5 separate regions of the Homo sapiens genome follow, and all the other regions are linked to region 4. The links are contacts of gene promoters, found by promoter capture Hi-C in human tissues and cell types (Jung and others, 2019). All regions are on one chromosome and are shown on one strand. The core of a region is centred on a gene start or on the middle of the fragment in contact, and the rest is flanking DNA. Distances in the headings are between cores, read along the strand shown. Region 1 overlaps CADPS2 (calcium dependent secretion activator 2). Region 2 overlaps SLC13A1 (solute carrier family 13 member 1). Region 3 overlaps CADPS2 (calcium dependent secretion activator 2). Region 4 holds the start of CADPS2 (calcium dependent secretion activator 2). Region 5 overlaps CADPS2 (calcium dependent secretion activator 2).

What was found. Contacts are between HindIII fragments. The study calls those that stand out against the background at their distance.
Region 1: a contact is called between a fragment that was not itself captured here and the fragment with the promoter of CADPS2 in region 4, in 1 of the 25 tissues and cell types used here (H1 embryonic stem cells).
Region 2: a fragment that was not itself captured here is called in contact with the fragment with the promoter of CADPS2 in region 4 in 1 of the 25 tissues and cell types used here (hippocampus).
Region 3: a contact is called between a fragment that was not itself captured here and the fragment with the promoter of CADPS2 in region 4, in 1 of the 25 tissues and cell types used here (H1 embryonic stem cells).
Region 5: a contact is called between a fragment that was not itself captured here and the fragment with the promoter of CADPS2 in region 4, in 1 of the 25 tissues and cell types used here (heart left ventricle).

Annotation. Positions count from the first base shown.
Region 1 is chr7:122,579,855-122,582,554 of GRCh38, reverse strand. It overlaps CADPS2 (calcium dependent secretion activator 2), which reads left to right. Exons shown (of 30, transcript NM_017954.11): 7 at 1,265-1,376. Among named protein-coding and RNA genes, the nearest start is that of RNF133, 120 kb to the left of the region's middle. The HindIII fragment of the contact is 4,038 bases long and covers 1-2,700 here.
Region 2 is chr7:123,180,104-123,182,803 of GRCh38, reverse strand. It overlaps SLC13A1 (solute carrier family 13 member 1), which reads left to right. Exons shown (of 15, transcript NM_022444.4): 2 at 1,703-1,831. Among named protein-coding and RNA genes, the nearest start is that of SLC13A1, 19 kb to the left of the region's middle. The HindIII fragment of the contact is 3,497 bases long and covers 1-2,700 here.
Region 3 is chr7:122,533,591-122,536,290 of GRCh38, reverse strand. The region is part of intron 8 of CADPS2 (calcium dependent secretion activator 2); the gene reads left to right. All of the region lies in intron 2 of LOC105375481 (a long non-coding RNA gene), which reads right to left. Among named protein-coding and RNA genes, the nearest start is that of RNF133, 160 kb to the left of the region's middle. The HindIII fragment of the contact is 4,878 bases long and covers 1-2,700 here.
Region 4 is chr7:122,885,188-122,887,887 of GRCh38, reverse strand. It overlaps CADPS2 (calcium dependent secretion activator 2), which reads left to right and starts at 1,428. Exons shown (of 30, transcript NM_017954.11): 1 at 1,428-1,889. The coding sequence starts at 1,551. RefSeq lists silencers at 1,021-1,180, 1,191-1,350, 1,421-1,500, 1,511-1,560, 1,601-1,730 and an enhancer at 2,091-2,140. The HindIII fragment of the contact is 17,974 bases long and covers 1-2,700 here.
Region 5 is chr7:122,420,578-122,423,277 of GRCh38, reverse strand. All of the region lies in intron 17 of CADPS2 (calcium dependent secretion activator 2), which reads left to right. Among named protein-coding and RNA genes, the nearest start is that of FEZF1, 120 kb to the right of the region's middle. The HindIII fragment of the contact is 3,745 bases long and covers 1-2,700 here.

The DNA of each region.
Region 1 (2,700 bases), core at 15-2,514, 310 kb after region 4:
AATTATATGAAATTGCAAAAAGTCTCTTTGCTAACCCCATTCTGGAAGTCTAAAATAGAAATTAAGCTGTTTTCTTCCCTAATTGATTCTTCTCTTCCCTCTGGCTTATGATATTTCAAAAAAAAAGACTGCATCTAGATGCCAGTTTCTTCAGTCATTGAAATGGTCTCTGCTTTACTGTATACATTTATTATAAATGCTGTGATAGGAGAGGAAGGCAATCACAATTATTTGTTCAATTTTTATTATACCTGCTTTACTGAGTTTTCTGTATGTTGTAAGCTCTCCGAATGAGATTTATAAAATAAAATGTAGACAGCTCCGTGAAAATGGTGAATTGTTTTGTTTTTTCAAGACAGCATAAGAAAATTGATATTTATTTGTTGTTTTATTTTTAACATGATCTGTATTTTGTTAAATCTCATTTTTTTCTCTGGTATTTTGCTCAATGGCATCTTCTTCATGCTGTGCTGAGTCTCATTGCATCTGATCTCTCAGAGTTGTGAGAAATATTGATAAGATTTTTTAATATCAGGTGTGTGCCAGTTAAGTTTGTAAATCAGGTAGAATGAACTGGTCTGCAATAAAGGCAAGATGCTATTAATTAAGAGATAAGCCAAGAAAGCATGTTATTTTGTTGTGATGATTTCAAAAGCCAGATGTCTACAGACTTATTCCCTTCCTAAGAGAATGTAGTGGGAAATTAACTACAAAACATTCAGATTCTTATGATGCATATTTCTTTCTTTTTGGCAGGAGCTTCAAAAGTCATATGAAGTAATAGATCTGAGATAATTATGCTTACTTTAAAAAAAGATAATGTTTAATAAAGACCTCTCAGGTGGGGTAAAGTCTTTAGTATATAAAAATCATTTTCTGAGAAACTCTCTCTTACGTAAACAAACCCTGAGCAATTTTCCCAGCTGCCAGTAAAAATGGTGCTATAATTTACATTTGAATTAATAAAGTAATAGATTTCAATAGCTACAACTATATTGCTTTACCTTAACCTAAATTCTCATAACATGCAATTTTTTATAGTCCAACATGCTAATTTTTTGAATAGCTGAGTAACTATTACAAGCTGTAAAGCTTATTGTTCTTTTCCTTCTTGATTGTGCCATCTGCTAGAAACAAAAGCAAAGATAAAAAGCTCATTGAGCACAGAAGATTCTGTATTTAATTTGCCTTCTATGGAGACACATCTCCTTGGGGAAAAAAATAATGCTGCATTTTAAGAAACATTTTTTTTACTTCATTACAGATGGGGGACTCAAGGAGATTTCACCACCACCCATCCTCGGCCTGTGGTCAAAGTGAAACTCTTCACAGAAAGCACTGGAGTTCTGGCCCTGGAAGATAAAGAACTGGGAAGGGTGAGTTGTGGTCAGCCTGTGTGTCCAGGGTAGAACAGTTTTAACTTCTTTGGATTCATGATTAAGGTAGATCAGTATGCCATATGTGAACTTTATGTTCATAAATTACATAAAATAATTTGTTATTTCCCACAAGCCCAGTATACACCTCTAATTTATTAAATCTAATTGTCTATAACACAGAAAGTATTGTGATAGGATTTGGTTGTGTAAGGGGTAAATACAAATTCCTTGTCACCAACTCAGTCATTCTCACACATGTGCTCCACTGGCCATTGAATGTGAATGGTGCTGGCCAACTTGCTCTTGGTGAAGGGTAATTCTCATGTAACATATTTTTGTCCCTGGGTTCAAAGGATCATCTTTATATTTGAAATCATCTGCTCTTCATGTTCATTGTGATTAATCACAGAATATCTCCGAAGTGCATCTGTCTCTCTTATCTTTTCCACTTTCCCCATGAAAAGCCCTTTTTCTCACACCTTTTAACATTATTCTTTTCCTATAGTCACCTCTTCATACCTAGAATATATATATGTTTACCTTCTAATCCCAGTATACCCTTACTATACTCAGCTTGTGCTGTCAGTAAAAGCATTAACATTAGGTAAATCTGTGTGAAAGGTCATCTTCAGACTTATAAATGAAGTAGGTGTTCTAATTGAGTAGTCTATATGAAGATGTCTTCTGTAATGTGAATTTTTTAATGGGTTTTTTTTTTTTTTTGAGACAGAATCTTGCTCTGTTGCCCAGGCTGGAGTGCAGTGGCACAACCTCGGCTCATTGCAACCCACCTCCTAGATTCGAGCGATTCTTGTGCCTCAGACTCCCAAGTAGCTGGGACCACAGGCACATACCACCTTGCCTGGCTAAATTTTGTATTTTTAGTAGAGATGGGGTTTCACCATCTTGGCCAGGCTTGTCTTGAACTCCTGACCTCAAGTGATCCACTCGCTTCAGCCTCCCAAAATGCTGGGATTACAAGCATAAGCCACCAACACCCGCCCTCTGTAATGTGAACCTATCTTACCTAGACCTGAAGACTGTATTCAGAGATATTTTCCAGCAAATAAAACCTTCAGAAATCTTACTTGAAAATTTCTGTCTGGTATTAATGGACTGCTTGTACAGTGCTAGATGCAAAAAGATGCTAGGATCATTCTGTATACTAGAAATTTTTTAAAAAACTGAAGTCAGGATTTCTATTAGTTTCAGACCCTTTTCTTCTACCTCCTTTATACTCTTGGAATTTTTCTATTTCTAGGGATTTGTAAGTCTGTATCTACACTCCAGAGATTTTGACTCTGCATTCATAATCCAGATT
Region 2 (2,700 bases), core at 151-2,650, 290 kb before region 4:
GTAATAATGTGATTATTGAAATTTTGCTTTTTATTCTGTCACCAAAGTTGTGCCATCTTAGTGGACTATGACTCTCCACCCAAAGGCCCATGTTGACATGGATGTTCAACACTTAAGGCAGGGGGTGTATATGGTGAACAGAACCAGCTAGCACTATGTATTCTATTTATTTTTTGATGTTTTAGCAGACCCTCATAGATTGGTGCTCCAGATAGTTGTCAGGGTGGCTAGACCTGTATCTGGCTTTCTGTAAGGGAATGCCAAATACAAAATGGATTCTTGGAAAGTGACCTGATATTGGAATAGTCTTGCCTGCAGTGGAGGAAGTGGGTGGAGGGGCAGATTTGAGAGATATAATGACTGGGGAATAAATAGGATCAAGATAGTGGCTAGTTGTAACTAGAGAGCAAGATTAAAAGTGGTCCATTTTATCTCTGCAACCTAGGTTCTTACAAGTATGATGGAAAACATAAAGTCATAACAGGAACTTTCAGGCTATCCATGTGTTCTCATTAAGAGAAAATGCACAACCTTTCTTCCATGCTGGCATTTTAATTTAAGCTAGTATACACAATTCTCTCTAGAGCTGTTCAGGAAGATCCATTCAAGGCTCAGCTTTGTTTTGTTGTTTTATTGTTTATCAAGATGGTAGAAGCAGACTCTGTATGAAACTGTCAACATCAAAACACTTTCATTCTTTCTCCTTTAAATAGATAACACAATAAAGGTACTGCCTAATCCTGGCTTATTAAGGATATCTTAGAAATGCACTGGAAGTGTAGGGATGCTGGTCAAGTAAATCCCAAGCCCCAAGGACTCACCCTGAGGCAGTTGAATCAGACAGCAGTAGTGCCAGACAAAAATAAAAGCTTAATAACTTCATTCAACCTAAACAGCAGTTTTTGTAAATTTTTCAAATGCAACTCAGAATTTGCAGAGAGTAAGCACTGTGAGAGCAAAATAGCACCATTTGATAGCTGCTAACCTTTACTAAAGACTTAGAACGTTCCAGGTGATTTCATACCAAAGTTATCTATATAAGTTAAATATAATGATAAATTTTGACCATCTCTTAACAATGCCCTAAAACATGAACCTATAGTTTTATACTAAGCAAAGCAACAGATTCTATTAAGAGTAGCATTCAGGCTCTTCCATGCCACACAACTTGTCATGTCTTTTCTCTGAGACACAGTACGGCAAAGGTTTCTCCTAGGTTGGTTTTCCCCTTTTAGTTAGAAGGAGAGGAAGGCAGGAGTGCTTAGGTCCCACTCAACCAGGCACCAAGGAATGCATTTAAAAGGCAGGTATCCTGCCCCCAGGGGAAAGGCTGTAACTTGGCTATTTCTGTACTCTGGAAGTATGGGGGAGTGCATTTTATAGGCCAAAGGAAAGTGAGTAGAAACATCTATATACACTAATATGAGCAAGAAAATGGACTAGATTATCTCTTTTGAGGGAAATGTGAAATAAATGTAATGAATGGGGATTTTTTTCTCCCTTTAGTTTTTTATGTTTATTAAATTTTGCTTCTTAGAACTTCTAAGAAATGAGTATTTGAGGGCAACTCAAAGATGCAGAGGTCTTCAGATCTTCTTACGTTCTCTGTGACATGGCTCTATTAAGCAAACATGTTTGTGTTTGAATGTTGACTTCTCCAGCCTCATAATATCACCTTTTGCTTTGCATTTGTTCTTACCAGGAAGCAGAATGTGCCTACACACTCTTTGTGGTCGCCACATTTTGGCTCACAGAAGCATTGCCTCTGTCGGTAACAGCTTTGCTACCTAGTTTAATGTTACCCATGTTTGGGATCATGCCTTCTAAGAAGGTAAGTCCTCTTGCCAATGTCATAAGTTGATTTCCTGTTTTGTATTGAGATTTCCATTGAGAAAAGTTATTTTTAAAGGGAGCAATCATCTCGTTGGTAAGGTTCCACATAAGTCCCCCAAACTTCCAACTGTTTCTCCTCTCTGGCATTCTGCATGTGTGTCCACCTTCAAAGAACAAACACAAGCTGCAGCTTCTTGAGTCATGCATGTCAGTGGGAGAAATGTATGTCCCCTCTTCTCTCACTGACATCTATGCCTAGTGCCTCCCTCTCAAAAACAGGGAAATTTGTTGACATCCTCCATAAGCTTTTTATATTCAGCAGAATTCAGCCTCACGGTGTTGGAAAAACAATTTTGTTTTTAATGAAGAAAAAGTTTCCCTGTTTTCATTTCCAGAAACCTGCCATTTCAAAAGATAAAGCCAAACTAATGTTCATGTATAGCTCCATTTTGTTCTTGCTGAGAGGAGTTTATTCATGCTAAGAGGTGTTTATTTGTTCTATACAATCTAAGAGTACCCATCTGAAGAAAGTGGATTTGGTTTCCCAAACGCATTGAAACCAGTCTCCAGCCACCCAGTGAACAACTGTCTAAACCACAGCTGAAACAATCTCAAGAAAGATGTTAAGTTCGAGATACCAGTCAGTGCAATTTATCACCTTTGGACTTCTATCTTCTGCCTGGGTCTAACATTGCTCTCTTGAGGCTTACCTGTCTGTCATTTTCTTTTTAACAAACCCTTGATTACATTTCTTCCTGTGAAAGGAATGGTTCCCTTCTTTATTTTCACGTCCTTCTTCCTGATTTTGGAGCCCCAGTCGATCTTTTTGCACTTTTTATCCTCCCTGATCCTCTTTTCTTACTGGGT
Region 3 (2,700 bases), core at 33-2,532, 350 kb after region 4:
TAATTCCTAACACACTGTTTTGCAATTAACAGGTCCCTAATAAATAATCTTAAATACTTCTATTTTTCTAGTCTGTTCATTATTCAGTAACTATAATTTATAACTATTCTACAACTATTCATTTTTCTTAAAAGCAAAAGGATATCATTTGTCTAATATTGTTTTGTTTTGCTTTATTCTGTGGAGATAAATTTACATTATAAAATTTAGGTTTGGAGAAACCCAATTACAAAAGGCAATTTGTATAAGGATGCCTTGTCATGCTACAGGTTCTGTCTCTCTTCCCAGTAGGGAGATAGTTTAGGACTGCCTCACAGCAGCCACTTAGTTCAGTTGGGTAGATATGGTGCTAATAGTCTAGGGTTTCCTCTAAGGTCTTGTTATCCTTCTTTATCCTCACTTTATCAAATGCTTGATAAAGTATTATTGGAAAACGTGAGAGTAAGACTCGCAGTGGAATTTTTGTAAAAGTTTTAAAAGGTCCCAAGAGACACAAGTCACTTTCACTGATGTGGGGCTCAGTATATCATCCCATCAATCTACAACTCTTGCCATTAGGCTTTAAAACAAGATCTATTTGCATGAGTTATTATCAAAAATCCAAATATATATTTGTTTTCATCAATGATACAGCAATATTCTCTACTAGTTCTTACAGGAATGTGTGGTCAATATCAATAGGATAATTCTGGTAATTATGCCTGTTTTGTAAAAGTCTTGTGAACATACTGGAAAGGTTCTTTAACAGACTTTATAAAAATAAAACATATTTATTATCTGGTATACTATTACCTTTTTAGAGTACTCAGCTACTACTCTAATTAGCAAGCTGATCCAAACATATGACTTCTTACATCTCTGACATCCAGATATAGTAGATTAAATACATTTGAAGAATCTATCACATTAAATAATATTCTTATTTAGTTCTTACAACACTATGTGATAGGTATGATGATACCAACTTACAAACAAGATCACTGAGTCATAAGGAGGTTAAGAAATTTGCCCAAAGCCATATAGCTAATAAGTGACCATGATTTGAACTCACTTGTCTGATTCCAGAGCTTATTCTCTAAACTGCTAGGCAACACCACCTACTAATACAAAATACTTTTCTCTTTAAGTGATCACTGTCAGTTCACGATACTCAAGTACCACCAGAGGCCAGGCAACTCAAATACTTGTGTAAAGTGATTAGGTTAAAAGTCATGAGGACTGGAAGTATCAGGATTATAGAAATCAGGAGAACATGTCCTGCAAAAGGGATTTCAAAATATATTTTTAAATGCTCAGCTTTCAAAGCACATTGGCAAGCCAGATTTGGTCCATGAGTCACCATTTTTTATTTTTTGGTTTATAGAAACATCCCTCCCCATTACTACTTTTGAATAATTTAGAGGTTCTGCTAATTGCCACATACTCAGAAACTGTATTTGCTTCTTTTCTTAGTGGCTAAGGAACCTTGGATATTCACATATTTTGAAATTGATTTCATTGAAATAAGAGAATGAAAGGAATTAAAAATGCACTTTTTTCCTGTTTAAATCTTTCTTCATGTCATTTATTAAAAATAATGACATTTCCATTGATGTACATTACTGTTAATCTGCCATCAAATCAATTATCTCTTCTGTGGCTATCTGAGGCCTGGCCTATATTTACTCAATAATTTACAAACTCTAAATATTAGGGTCTTGAGTTAGGACATAAAATTCATCATCAGTTTGACATTTATTTCTCATCTCAGAATTGTATCAGTTTGTAAGTTTGGCATGGTGAATATCTCAATTTATAACTATGCCTTAAGCCTGTGACTTTGTAGTGAATTATATGAAAAACAAATCTGCATAATATCTTTCAGCCTAGTAAATATATTTGCTCTCCTCTGTGTAGTTACTTTGCTGAAATATCACTTAGAGACTATGTTGGGAGGCATTGTTGAAATAGTCTTGATATGTTAAAAGCTTAGCCTATTTTGAACTGATCATATCAGTTCAAGGAATTTACCTTACTACAAAAGCAAATGATTTTGATTGTTTAAATGTAAGATTAGGAAACAAAATCCCTCATATTAAAGTTGTCTAGAGTTTAGATAAAAATCAGAATCACGCTTTTAAAAGAATTCAGGTGCAATAAATAGAATTCAGATCAGCAAATGTTCAGACTCCTAAATCATTGGCAAATTAGGTAATACACAGAGCTGGAGATGTGAATATTATATAATGAGGATAATAAAGGAGTTGAATGTGATGTGCCTTGGGTGCATGTTAGTAGCTAATTCCAATATGAATGCTTTGCAATCATTTGCCAGCAGAGATGCATGCGTTCGGCTAAATGGAAATCTTGGACGTTCTCTCATACACCCCATTATTTGTAATTGAACACCTGATTTCTATCATGCAACAAATTAACATCTGCACTGGATCTGTCTTTTATGCATATGGATACACTGATTAGAATTTTGCAGATAGGCAGATACTTGAAAACAAAAAGACAACATTGTGAAACACTTCCAGCCATAATTTTTGATTACATATTGAGAATCGTTTAATTATCTTACTCCATGTAATTAGCTCTTCTACTTAGGTCAATTGCTTTTTTTATTAACATGACATGTTAGCAATTTGTTAATTGGCATAAAATAACATGAGACTTCTGGATATTTCATATGAGAAATACATGTGCTTAAGGAAGCTA
Region 4 (2,700 bases), core at 179-2,678:
TAGGGGGCCTGTTATGGATTAGGCAGAAAAATAGGTAAGACTCCTCAGGAGTAAATGCCTCCTTGTCTTTTACCCATCTAGAGAGAATGTCAGTAAGTGCAGAAGTCTCTCTTGTGTACCTAACTATATGAAAGTGGCCTGAAAAAGCTAAAACTGCTGTTTGACCATGGTGGTAGAGGAGCTCAGAGCTGGTAGTTAATTTGCCCTGTGTTATTTCCACTGAACTTCATCACCTCCCTGCCCACCTGGTCGCTGCACACTCCACCTGGTGTTGAATGCATTGTTTTGCCTATTTCCCCCTCTGTCAGGACTTAGGACATAAGATACAGAATTACTATAAGAAACTCCTAGGTGGTTCCAGCACTAGGACTGAGAAATCTGCGCAGATAAGGCAGGCTTCAGCGCAGCTACAAGACGCCGACTTGAGGCCAGAACCACCAGCGACTGAGTGTCATGTGCCTTAGTCACCGCGGGCTCCGCAAAAGGCTAACAGTGCTGGACACCGGGAGGGCGCTCAAATCTTTGTTGAATAAATGTCCACACTACACAACCTGTTTTGAGTCAACTGCATCCCAACCCAGAAAATAATCGAGATATGTTTGAGCTGAATCAGTATCATTTTGCACATATAAAATCTCTCTTGCCTTGAGTCTGCAGGACTAGAACAGTTTAAAAAGTAAGCCTCGTTGGTTTTCTTTTTTTTTTCATTACTCCGACTTTTATAATTTGGGCTTCAGCATGAGTATCAAAACGGCAGCAGAGCAGAGTGAGACTTTTCAAAGTCTTGTCGCAAAGATACTTCGTGGTGAAGGGCTCCAGTCCCGCTTTTCCGCGCTGGGGTTCAATCCTAGGCAGCCGATTCGGGTTGGGGAGATGTCTCGGCCGCTCCCCCTAACCTCTTGCTAGGGAACAGTCCCTCCCCGCTCCCCATTCCACCTCCACCTGCTGGAGAAAAGATCACAGGTGGTAGGGTGAGGGTAGTCGGAGCAGCCCCGGTGGACGCTTACACGGGCCATCGCGCTCGGCCGCTCCCCGCCTTTGCAAACTGTGTGCTAGGGCTCCAGGCGGGCCCGGGCAGCAGCGGCGGCGCGCGCACGCGCACTCCGCGGCCCCGCGCGGCTCTTCAACATTCAATTCCACGTGTTGCTTGTTGTAGGCGCCACAGGTTCCCCACCTGCGTCCGGGCGCTCGGGCGGCTCCGCCTCTGCCGGCGGGCTCTGGGGAACCGCTGGGTCGGCGCGCCCGGGGCTGGCGGAGCAATTCCTGAGGCGCCCAAGCTCACCCCCAACGCTAACTCCGCCTATTCAGTCCCGGCGGCTCCCCCTCTCCCCCCTCCCAATCCTCCTCCCGGCTCCTGCCCGCCCCTTTCGCCCTGGTGGTAGGAAACACTCCTGAATCTAACTCGACGTGTCCGGAAAGCCCTGGCCAGTTTTCCTTTCGTTCTGCGGCCGCTGCAGCCAGCCCCGCGGCTCCCTCAGACCCGCGGGCGCAGCCGCCGGGGGTGAGGCGCTTGGGGACCGCGGGCCGAGCGGCGGGGATCCCCGAGCACCATGCTGGACCCGTCTTCCAGCGAAGAGGAGTCGGACGAGGGGCTGGAAGAGGAAAGCCGCGATGTGCTGGTGGCAGCCGGCAGCTCGCAGCGAGCTCCTCCAGCCCCGACTCGGGAAGGGCGGCGGGACGCGCCGGGGCGCGCGGGCGGCGGCGGCGCGGCCAGATCTGTGAGCCCGAGCCCCTCTGTGCTCAGCGAGGGGCGAGACGAGCCCCAGCGGCAGCTGGACGATGAGCAGGAGCGGAGGATCCGCCTGCAGCTCTACGTCTTCGTCGTGAGGTGCATCGCGTACCCCTTCAACGCCAAGCAGCCCACCGACATGGCCCGGAGGCAGCAGAAGGTGAGTTGCGGGACCGGGCGCCTCCTACCACCACTTCTCCCTGGGTTTTTCTCCCGGGAGAGCTCTGGGACGCCTCCCGTCCTTCTGCGAAACGCAGGACACCGTATTTTTGTTAGTCTCTGAGGGCAGAGGAATCTTTGGGGACAAGACGGTGCTTTCACCCGCCGGGTATGCGGCTGCAGCGGACACCTCTTCTCCTCCTCCCCGCCTGGGCTGGCAGGAGCTGTCAGCTCACCATCCGTGAGACAGAGACCGACAGCGCCGGCCGCGCCGCGGTTGCACCCGGCAGGCGCAGCTCTGGCCGGATTAGAATGCAACTCCCATCAACTTTAATTTCCAACAGCACTGGTGCATTCCTGTCCACCTAGCCTGGCGTGATATTGCTAGAGCTGGGTTTGCCGAGGGTCTGAATGAGTGTTGTAGCTAGGCGAAACAGGTGGAGCCCGAGTACTTCTCTTAGCTAGAGTGAAGTCTTCACTTAAGAGGGGTAGAAATTTTCCTCAGTGAATAAAAAAGTTAAATTAATACGTTTCCTATATTGTCATACAACCAGGACATCAAATCCAAACACCGAGAAGGCATGCAGCTTTGTAAAGTGTTTGTGGGTAAGTAATTTCTGGTCTGGGCAGGCCTGATTAATGAAATATACTATTACTGATGAAAGATAAAGGATTGGTGCATGATCACTTCATAACAAATGCTTTCCAAATGCTTTTTTGGGGAACAAAATGCTTATTCTCCCCCAAAAGGTAAGAAGTTTGTTTCAGGTGAAAGGCTGGCCAACTTGAGTTTCAAAACAAGACCCCAGGGG
Region 5 (2,700 bases), core at 120-2,619, 460 kb after region 4:
AAATAAGAAAGCCTATAAGTATTGAGATGTGGCCAGGATTGACCTCCTGGAGCCTACTTGCCCTAGACTTTGGCACCATGTAACTTACCACAGGTTGCTATGGCCAGAGCTGGAGGAAGGGTCAGAAAATCTAGATAAAAATTTAGACTTTCCAACTGAGTCATCAGTCTGTACTATGCAAAGAGGGAGGATGTTGATATCAGAGTTAAGATTCAAATTAGAGTAGACTGGGGATCCAGTAGAAATTCCCTGGCTAGCTAAGGTAGACTAAAGGGACTTATGGTTTATTTATTTATTTTTATTTTTATTTATTTATTTTGAGACGGAGTCTCACTCTGTCACCCAGACTGGGGTGCAGTGGCGCGATCTCGGCTCACTGCAACCTCTGCCTCCCAGGTTCAAGCAATTCTTCTGCCTCAGCCTCCCAAGTAGCTGGGATTACAGGCGTGTGCCACCACGCCAGGCTATTTTTTTTTTTTTTTTTTAATAGAGACGGGGTTTCACCATGTTGGCCAGGCTGGCCTCGAACTCCTAATATCAAGTGATCCACCCACCTCAGCTTCCCAAAGTGCTGGGATTACAGGCATGAGCCACCGTGCCTGGCCAGGGGATTATGGTTTATAAATGAACAGAAGGCATCTAACATTGATGAGTTACCTAAGATAGAGTATTTTCTGATCTCTGTAATTAGAACAATTTGTTTATGTGCCCAAAGCATTGTGTATATGTGTGTGAGAGTGTGTAATGTAATGTTGCTTTATATTTCTGCAGGGGGAACAGCTAGGGGATCAATCACTATCTCCTTTAGTGGGGAGAGGGAAAAGGAAGGATCCATTCCACCATTTCTTCAGCTGGGCCTAATGGTAGATAAGTTTTGCCAGCAAGCAGTCCACAAGAGTAGGCTGACAGTCCTTGTTACTGGCTGACATTTGGGGTTCCACGTAGAAGAAATTAGATGCTGTGCCTTTGGCCGTAATGTCCTTGTTCTTTACAGGCTCTCAAGGTAAAGCCTCGCTGTTTGGGCCTCACTTCAGAGAGTGCCCCAGGTGACTGCTTCCTTGTGCTCATATCCCTGCTATTGCCAAACTATAGTCCTTCCTTTCCCTTGTTTCACTAGATAGTAGATATTTTCCCATTTTCTCCCTTTTTCCACACCTCTTTTCTGATTTTCTGAAGTTATCCCTATAGTCCCTTATGAAGATTTTTGTGTTTCTCACCTCAGCCATCTCCTGAACGTCAGGACTTTTTCATTATCCATCTGATATATAGTCATTAGCTGGAGAGGGAAGAAGCAGAGGAGTGAGTGAATGCTTTTCTCTGAATGGGAGGGGGAAGAGGTGAAAGACTTCCACTTTGGACTGTTGCTAGCTTTCTAAACTCGAACACATACCCACCACAATAATTTCATTCTGAAAAACTCCATATGATATACACAGCAATTTAAAGCCTTCTTATTGATGCATCTTTGATCCTATTTCTTGCAAGCTAATAACCCTGTTCTTACATACTGCTTACATTTAATTCACTCTCTTTACAGACTTTATAACAGATCTTCTTTATGTTGACCAGAAATGGATTATAGGTTGCCATATTCTACCTTATAATCTGGTTAGAAAGAGATATATGTAAATTCTTTGAAGGCAGAAATAATATCTTTTTAATCATTGTATCCCCTCAGTGGCTAGCGAAGTACCTTACATGGAATAAAATGTTTGTTGAATCAAATTCAGGGCCACGGAATCTGAGGAGTTTAAAAACCAAAGAAGAAATGAATGCATATACAGGAATTATTTTTTCATGCTCCCTAGCTGATCATCATGGCCTAGATGCAAAGGAGGGAAGAAGATAGGGCAGTATTGGAATGGAATTATTTCCATAGTCCTTCAGTCTAACACCATCTTCAACACTATTTATTGTTTAGCTGCAAGTACAGATACAATCAGCTCATTAAATTTAAGATCATGGTGAGTGGAGGTGAGGACATTTAAAATCTCTCATCAAAATTAATTTGTGACAATTGTTACATAATATATACATAAATCATCATGTAGGGTTATTAGCAAATACTTTTTCATCAATTTAAAAAATTTTAAAGTTAAGGTCAAAGCATGACAAATTACTACATATCATATACGGATAAAAAGGAAGGTATCTCACTGGTCTTCTTCCCACATCCTGGTATAAGCTTCACCATGAGCATCACTGTGCATCCATCACGGGGACTTTGACAGGGAATAGCAGCAAGGGAGGCAGCCCAGTCCAGTGTGCCAGGAGATATGCCCCTTTCTAAGCCATGGAGTAGAATGAAACCCTACCAAAGCAAACAGTCGAGCTGTCTTTTTACATCTTTCCATCCTCCCTCCCCTTCCCCAGTAGGATCTCTTCTTAAATGTATGGAGGTATAATTAAAAATGAATTGTTTCAATGAGCCAAGGAGTGTTACAGAAAACCAAAAGTGTTCCAGAGCAAAGAAGAATCATAGCCAAGAACAATGCATTGAAATTCATCAAGCAACTTTGCTACTTTTGGCATGTTTGTTTTAAATGTCACTGTTTGAAATGTATTACAACAATCAGCAATTTGGTGTGAAGCTTGAAGGATGTAGAGCCATCTGTAATGCTTTGGAAATGTTACAAAATGAGTGAAAACAAACATTTTAAGGAAGAATTCTCAAATATTCCCAATGTTCGGCTTTTTAAT